Regions from separate parts of the Homo sapiens genome. Here all the other regions are linked to region 2. Evidence: promoter capture Hi-C in 16 types of primary human blood cells and fetal thymus (Javierre and others, 2016). All regions are on one chromosome and are shown on one strand. The core of a region is centred on a gene start or on the middle of the fragment in contact, and the rest is flanking DNA. Distances in the headings are between cores, read along the strand shown. Region 1 has its middle 80 kb from the start of ADRB2. Region 2 holds the start of ADRB2 (adrenoceptor beta 2). Region 3 has its middle 74 kb from the start of ADRB2.

Evidence for each region. The method cuts DNA at HindIII sites, captures the fragments that hold promoters and counts their contacts. A CHiCAGO score of 5 or more calls a contact.
Region 1: a fragment that was not itself captured here is called in contact with the fragment with the promoter of ADRB2 in region 2 in 4 of 17 cell types (M2 macrophages, total B cells, endothelial precursors and 1 more); the score reaches 6.1 in M2 macrophages.
Region 3: a fragment that was not itself captured here is called in contact with the fragment with the promoter of ADRB2 in region 2 in 5 of 17 cell types (monocytes, neutrophils, total B cells and 2 more); the score reaches 8.8 in monocytes.

What each region holds. Positions count from the first base shown.
Region 1 is chr5:148,905,619-148,908,535 of GRCh38, reverse strand. No RefSeq gene overlaps it. Among named protein-coding and RNA genes, the nearest start is that of ADRB2, 80 kb to the right of the region's middle. The HindIII fragment of the contact is 1,124 bases long and covers 941-2,064 here.
Region 2 is chr5:148,825,138-148,827,968 of GRCh38, reverse strand. It overlaps ADRB2 (adrenoceptor beta 2), which reads right to left and starts at 1,358. Exons shown (of 1, transcript NM_000024.6): 1 at 1-1,358. The coding sequence starts at 1,137. RefSeq lists enhancers at 458-1,043, 1,900-2,059 and silencers at 1,090-1,229, 1,320-1,629. The HindIII fragment of the contact is 9,818 bases long and covers 1-2,831 here.
Region 3 is chr5:148,751,526-148,754,482 of GRCh38, reverse strand. No RefSeq gene overlaps it. Among named protein-coding and RNA genes, the nearest start is that of ADRB2, 74 kb to the left of the region's middle. The HindIII fragment of the contact is 3,299 bases long and covers 1-2,957 here.

The DNA of each region.
Region 1 (2,917 bases), core at 253-2,752, 80 kb before region 2:
AATACATACCTTCTAATTCATTTACATTATAATAGGCTTATTTTATTTATTGCTACAACTTGTAAGAAGTGACTATATTAGTTAGCATCCAGCTTTAGATGCGTTTAACAAAGACCTAGAAGAACAGTGGCTTAAACAGAGAGAAGTCTACCTCTCTGCCATGTGAAACTCTTCATGTAGACAGTTCACGGCTGGTATGGAGCCTCCACAGGCATCCAGGATCCAGGTTTCTTCCAATTCTCTATCATCCTCAGGTGTGTCCCCTCATGTCACCATCCTGAGTGGAAACCCAACCATCAGATCCATAATCCAGATAGCAGGGAGAAGATGGAGGGGAATAAAGGATACGCCCCCTCCCTTAAGGACACAATCCAGAACCTGACTTTTCTACTTCTGCTTACAACATCCCATTGGGCAGAACTTAGTCACATGGCTGAGCCTAGCTACAGGGAATCCTGGGAAATGTAGCCGTGTTTCAACTTGAAATTTGGCAGCCATATTACAGGGGAAGAATGAAAGAGTAGATATTGGGGGACAGGAAGCAATTTCTGCCATATTTGCCATTTTTAAAGTGTTATAAATAGTTATTCATAAACTATTGCGGTTTCTTACACCCCCTACCCCACAGCATTTTGGTGGGTAATAATAAAAAGTGTAATTGTAATAATAAAAGTAGTAAAACTTGTGGATAAGCCAGTAGGAGTGTGCTGTGCCTGGGAACAATGTCTTGTACGTGACATTAGAAAACATGTAGAGAACTTGTCTCATCTCTTTACCCTGACATTCAAGTTTTCTACAATGGGGCCACAGCCTACTTTTCCAAATATTTAATTCTTCACTTCTGTGCTTGAGAGCTCTATTTTAGCAAAGGATAGTTAAAGAAAACGTAACTTTCTTCCCTCCCTGTCATTTGTCATGTTGTTCCTGTCACTTAGAAGCTTTCCTTGGATTCCTAGAACATGAACTTATGCTCCACCTCAGGTCTTGCCTCTTCCTTTCTCTGGGATGTGTTTTTCCCAGACAGCTTTTTATATAGCCCTCTCCTTTTTGTCATTCAGATCTCAGTTCAAGTACCAAATGGAGAGAGAGGCCATCTCTGATAAACTTTTTAAGTACTGTCTCTTCCCCGCACCCCCACCCCACTCTCTATCACATTACTCTGCTTCATTTTCTTCATAGCATTGTTCAATATCTGAAGTTACCTTGTTTTGTTACATGCTTATGCTGCTTCTGCATCTTTTCCCATAGAACGTTCTAGAAAAGCCAAGGCCTGTCAGTTTGCTCACTGTTGCACATTTGGCTTGATGGCTCATGTTAGAGACTCGATAGCACATTGCTTAAATCAAGAAATGACTGCATACCCGTTTCTCCCTCTCTAACCTACTTAGGCTCTGAGCCAAGCCCACAGCCTCAACTTGCTCTATGAAGTATGTTTTGATCCTTTTGCCCCATTTGCATCATGCCTGGCTTCTTTTCATCTTTCAAACTGAAACTTAAATGTCACTTCCTTGGAAAGCCCATCACTGTTGACCCCAGAGCAGGCAGGTGTCCCCCTTACTTCATCAGAGAACCCTGCTCCTCATTTCCTTCAGGGTTCTTTTCACAACATGTAATTCTATATTTACTTACATCTACACTTACTTTTTTTTTCTCTCTCTCTCCCCACTAGAGGTTAAGCCATAGAGGTGGAGAGGTCAGTCTTCCTTGCCCTCACGGTGAATCCCAGGGCACAGTATGGTGTCTGTATGTAGTAGGTGGTCCAGAAACTTGTGAATAAACCAATGAAAGCACAACATGTGCTGCCTATACCGCTTACCTGGATAATAACGATCCCCTCTCTATCTTTAACTTTAATACCCGTAAGATTCTTCATCTAGGCAATTCTCATCTCTCTTTTGTAAGCTCCTTACAGACAGGGACCAGTTTCCTCTTTATACCTCTTCACTCCAGCATACTGGGTTTCCTTAGATCAGTTTTTCTGACACTGTATTCCAGGATTGTTGATAAGCATTGCAAGAAAACTGGATTCCATGATCAAAAAGTTTGCTTGTACTAGGTTAAGCTTAAATGGTTGTTTGTTTTGTTTTGTTTTGTTTTTTTAAATCACAGAACTTTACAAGGATTTTGATGTGCTATTACAGGATATAAATTTCCAAGAGGTGAGATAAAGTAGTCAGTATTGTCCAAACTTTTTGGAAACTTTATTTTCTTTTTTCGGAGACTAATTTGAGGTATTCTAAGTGTTTCATGGTACATACTCTCATTCCCTCTAGCTTTTTTTGAATTTCTCTTCTACCTTCTTATTTGTTTCCCTACTTTTTCTCCAATGAGCCTCTCCTCTTTTTAAAACTCCCTTGTAAATGATCTTAACACTGACTGTCATTTGTAGGGTGCAGAGCACAGGTGCAACTACTCAACCTCACTCGAGAAGAGCCTGCATCCAAGGTCTGTAAACCTCAGAATCTGGTGTGCCCAATCTCACAGAAGCCCTCATGCCCCTGAGTCTTAATTTTTCCACTGGTATGATTTAGGAAGTAATGAGCTAAATAATAACTTTGCTGGTAAGTACTTGGGGGGACACCAACTAGATTTCAAACTACTGTGGGTTTCATTTCCAATCTGGAAGATGGGATTGGCCATTGATCAGGAGATGTACACAGGATGTTGAATCTACTACACTCCAACCTCATGGTAGAGCAACTGACTCAGACCACTCTGTGAGCCTTCCCCAGCATCGGTCTCCTGATCTAATAAACTTGAGCACCAGATCCACCTAATGGGATGTGCTGACCTGACAGGGAGAAATGTTTCCTGGCTTACTGTCTGCTTGTAGTGTTGACTTCACTGGCAGTAGCAGGGTAAGCAAACAATAAAACAAAACAGAACAAAACTTCCCTCAAATCTACCAGGAAAAGCC
Region 2 (2,831 bases), core at 109-2,608:
TTCACACAGCAGTTTATTTTCTTTCTCCTGTTCCACGTGATATCCACTCTGCTCCCCTGTGTTGCCGTTGCTGGAGTAGCCATTCCCATAGGCCTTCAAAGAAGACCTGCGCAGGCACAGAAGCTCCTGGAAGGCAATCCTGAAATCTGGGCTCCGGCAGTAGATAAGGGGATTGAAACCAGAATTGACATAGCCTATCCAATTTAGGAGGATGTAAACTTCCTTACGGATGAGGTTATCCTGGATCACATGCACAATGTTAACGATGAAGAAGGGCAGCCAGCAGAGGGTGAAAGTGCCCATGATGATGCCTAACGTCTTGAGGGCTTTGTGCTCCTTCAAGCAGAACTTGGAAGATCTGCGGAGTCCATGCCCCGTCCGCCCATCCTGCTCCACCTGGCTAAGGTTCTGGACATGGAAGCGGCCCTCAGATTTGTCAATCTTCTGGAGCTGCCTTTTGGCCTCCTGAAAGACCCTGGAGTAGACGAAGACCATGATCACCAGGGGAACGTAGAAGGACACGATGGAAGAGGCAATGGCATAGGCTTGGTTCGTGAAGAAGTCACAGCAGGTCTCATTGGCATAGCAGTTGATGGCTTCCTGGTGGGTGGCCCGGTACCAGTGCATCTGAATGGGCAAGAAGGAGGTAAGGCCTGACACAATCCACACCATCAGAATGATCACCCGGGCCTTATTCTTGGTCAGCAGGCTCTGGTACTTGAAAGGTGAAGTAATGGCAAAGTAGCGATCCACTGCGATCACGCACAGGGTCTCAATGCTGGCCGTGACGCACAGCACATCAATGGAAGTCCAAAACTCGCACCAGAAGTTGCCAAAAGTCCACATTTTCATAAGAATATGGGCGGCCCCAAAGGGCACCACTGCCAGGCCCATGACCAGATCAGCACAGGCCAGTGAAGTGATGAAGTAGTTGGTGACCGTCTGCAGACGCTCGAACTTGGCAATGGCTGTGATGACCAGCACATTGCCAAACACGATGGCCAGGACGATGAGAGACATGACGATGCCCATGCCCACCACCCACACCTCGTCCCTTTCCTGCGTGACGTCGTGGTCCGGCGCATGGCTTCCATTGGGTGCCAGCAAGAAGGCGCTGCCGTTCCCGGGTTGCCCCATGGCGCGCAGTCTGGCAGGTGAGCGCACTGGCTGGGGGCGCCTCAGCGGGCGGACCCACGGCGGGGCTCTGCGGGCCGCGAGCGGACGCCTGGAAGCCTCATTCAGCGGCTGTGGTGTGGGTGTGGTGGGGACTCGTCCTGCACACTCAGCTTGTCGGGTGCTAGGGGCTCGCGGTGCCTGCCAGTTCCAGCCCGTGCTCTGAAGAAGCCGCTTCGCAGTGCGTTCTGCCCGTTATGTGCACAGGACTTTAGGGGAACTGCCCTCGCCGTGACGTACGGGAACTTTCGGCCAATGGCACGCCGGCAGCCGCGAAGGGGCGAGGCACTCCTCCCCTTTCCCTCCCCTCCCCTCGCCCTCCTTCTCCTGGGGCTGGCCCGGGCGGGGCCCAACTGCTCCCTGGAGGGCGGGCCACCACTGCTTCCCGGCTACCCTGGCTGGCCCCAGAGGGCTAAAGCTGGAGGTGGTGTCCTTACCAGCCAACCCGGGAGCTTTTGGCTCTTCTGTGGCCGCTACCTGCCTGCCCTGGGCGCCTGCGCGGCTTGAGGTCTCAAGGCAGAGGGCAGCACACCGGCACTGCCCCACATTCGGAAGGAAACGAGAGTGCCCACCGAGGCACGCACATACAGGCACAAATACACCCTGGCAGACATGCTCAGACTTATACCGAACCACAGCCATAGACACTGAGACACACCCTCCCAGCTCACCGACATGCACACTCGCGCGCGCTCTCACACAGAAGCCATCCGGCACAAAGTCACCCCTGTCCAACACAGAAACGCGGCCAGAAACAAACACAGAAGCACCCAGAAGCACAAAGACATGGTGACACACACAGAAAGTAAACACACGCTGGCTTGGAGGCATCCAGAGCGACACAGACACGGATGTCTCCATCTGGGTACTCCGAACTTGCCTCACCCGAGCACTGATAATGCTCCCCTCCCAACATACACCCGGTAACCCAGTGTATTCCCTTTCAAACATTTGGCAAGAGCACAGGAGGTGACTTCAACAGCTGCTGATTTCCTCAGCACACTCGCTGTCAAGTACTTTAGGTGCCCTCCTTAGGAATTTGCAGGCATGAAGACAGTTTTACCCTTTGGATTTTATCTGGAGCGGGGGTATGCAAGTATGTATTTTGGGACAGAGAGAGAAAGTTGTGTGCTTTTGTTTTAATTTTTTTGTTGTTTTGTTTTTAACTCTTGAGAGTGTGGCATCACTCACTCATTATCTGTTGAACTGGAGATGCAATGAGAATTCAAACAATTTCTTCAGTAAACCCAATGAAACTAAAAAAAATCCTTTCATCTGCTGGATAGTTTGTTAATCTTTCGGGTTGTGCCATGTGAAATTGCCACCATCTGGCGTCTGTGACTTACCAAAATGGCAAATTCATATGGTTCAGAGTATTAAGAATGTCTTAACATTAAGAACATTTTGAAGCTATAGAAAGCAAAAGATCCTGGCCAATATGGTGTAACTCTTGTCTCTACTAAAAATACAAAAATTAGCCAGGTGTGGTGGCACGTACCTGTAGTCCCAGCTACTCGGGAGGCTGAGACAGGAGAATCTCTTGAACCCGGGAGGTGAAGGTTGCAGTGAGCCGAGATCACGTCACTGCGCTCCAGCCTGGGTGACAGAACAAGACTCCATCTCAAAACAAAACAAAACAAAAAACACAAGATAATTCT
Region 3 (2,957 bases), core at 351-2,850, 74 kb after region 2:
TAGCCTACAGATGGGAGAAAATATTTGCAAGCCATATATCTGATAAAGAGTTAATGTCAAAAATATATAAGGAACTCCTGCAACTCAATAGCAACAAACAAAAAAATAATAAAAATAACTCATTTAAAAATTGGACAAAGGGCCTGAATAGACATTTCTCCAGAGAAGGCATACAAATTGCCAACAGGTATATGAAAATATTTCCAACATTGCTAATCAGGGACATGTAAATCAAAGCCACAATAAGATATCACCTCAAACTAGTTAGGACAACTATTTTCAGAAAACCAACAGATAACAAATGTTGGTGAGGATGTGTAATAGACAATAAAGAACCTTGTACAATGTTCTCAAAGCCACTATGTAAAACAGTATAAACTTTTCTTTAAAAATGAAAAATGAAAATACCATTATTATCTAGCAATCCCACTTTAGGGTATGCATCCAAAGGATTTGAAATCAAGATCTTGAAGAGATATCTGCACTCCCATGTTCATTCCATTATTATTCACAACAGCCAACACATGAAAGCAACCTAAGAGTCCATCAACAAATGTATGAATAAAGAAAATGTGACATTCCATGCTCATGGATAGGAAGAATCAATATCGTGAAAATGGCCACACTGCCCAAAGTAATTTATAGATTCAATACTATCCCCATCAAGCTACCACTGACTTTCTTCAAAGAAGTGGAAAAAACTACTTTAAATTTCATATGGAACCAAAAAAGAGCCCACATAGCCAAGACAATCCTAAGCAAAAAGAACAAAGCTGGAGGCATCACGCTACATGACTTCAAACTATACTACAAGCCTACAGTAACCAAAACAGCATGGTACTGGTACCAAAACAGATATATAGACCAATGGAACAGAACAGAGCCTCAGAAATAATACCACACATCTACAACCATCTGATTTTTTGACAAACCTGACAAAAACAAGAAATGGGGAAAGGATTCCATATTTAATAAATGGTGTTGGGAAAACTGGCTAGCCATATGCAGAAGGCTGAAACTGGATCCCTTCCTTACACCTTATACAAAAATTAACTCAAGATGGATTAAATACTTAAACATAAGACCTAAAATCATAAAAACCCTAGAAGAAAATCTAGGCAATAGCATTCAGGACATAGGAATGGGCAAAGACTTCATGACTAAAAAACCAAAAGCAATGGCAACAAAAGCCAAGATTGACAAATGGGATCCGGTTAAACTAAAGAGCTTCTGCACAGCAAAATAAACTATTATCAGAGCGAACAGGCAACCTACAGAATGGGAGAACATTTTTGCAATCTACCCATCTGACAAAGGGCTAATATCCAGAATCTACAAAGAACTTAAACAAATTTACACACACACACACACACACACACACATACACACACACACAAACAATCCCATCAAAAAGTGGGTGAAGGATGTGAACAGACACTTCTCAAAAAAAGACATTTATACAGCCAACAAACATATGAAAAAAAGCTCATCATCACTTGGTCATTAGAGAAATGCAAATCAAAACCACAGTGAGATACCATCTCATGCCAGTTAGAATGGCCATCATTAAAAAGTCAGGAAACAACAGATGCTGGAGAGGATGTGGAGAAATAGGAATGCTTTTACACTGTTGGTGGGAGTGTAAATTAGTTCAACCATTGTGGAAGACAGTGTGGTGATTCCTCAAGGATCTAGAACCAGAAATACCATTTTACCCAGCAATCCCATTACTGGGTGTATACCCATAGGATTATAAATCATTCTACTATAAAGACACATGCACACATATGTTTATTGTGGCACTGTTCACAATAGCAAAGACTTGGAACCAACCCAAATGCCCCTTAATGATAGACTGGATAAAGAAAATGTGGCACATATACACCATGGAATACTATGCAGCCATAAAAAAGGAGGAGTTCATGTCCTTTGCAGGGACATGGATGATGCTGGAAGCCATCATTCTCATTAAATTAACACAGGAGCAGAAAACCAAATACCACATGTTCTCACTCATAAGCAGGAGCTGATCAGTGAGAATACATGGACACAGAGAGGGGAACATCACACACTGGGGCCTGTTGGGGGGTGGGGGGCTAGGAGAGGGATAGCATTAGGAGAAATACCTAATGTAGATGACGGGTTGATGGGTGCAGCAAACCACCATGGCACATGTATACTTATGTAACAAACCTGCACGTTCTGCACATGAACCCCAGAACTTAAAGTATAATAAAAAATGTATGTAAAAAAAAGAAAATGTGATGTATGTATACAATGGGATATTATTCAGCCTTAAAATGGAAAGGAAATCCTGCCATTTGCAAACATATGGATGTACTTGGAGGATATTATGCTAAGTATTATAAGCCAGACACAGAATGACAAACACAACATGACACTATTTATACAACAAATATAAAATAGTCAAACTCTTAGAAGCAGACAATGAATGGTGGTTGCCAGGGACTGAGGAGAGGACATATTAGAAGGTGTTAGTTGAAAGTTTCAAAGGTTTGGTGATACATAATGAATAAGTTCTAAAGGTTTACTGCACGACATAGTGCTTATAGTTAACAATACTGTATAGTATACTTAAAAATTTGCTGAATGGGTAGATGTTATATGAAGTGAGCTTATCACATACACACACACATACATACAAATAATATATAAGAGGAGAGGGGAAAAATTTTGCTTTATATTTATCTCCAAACTCGTCAAGTTGTACATATTAAATATGTGTAGCTTTTTGCATGTCAATCCTACCTTAATAAAGTGGCTTAAAAGAGGAAGAGTATTATAAGGTTCAAACCACAAGAAGAAAGCCAGAAGAAAGCAGGTAGTCCTGGGAGAGACACTATACCACTGTGGTTTTCAAGTCTGAGACACTGACCAGCCCCTTTAAGAAAAAAGAAATTTCTCATAGTCCCCATCATTGATATGTCCCTTTTATT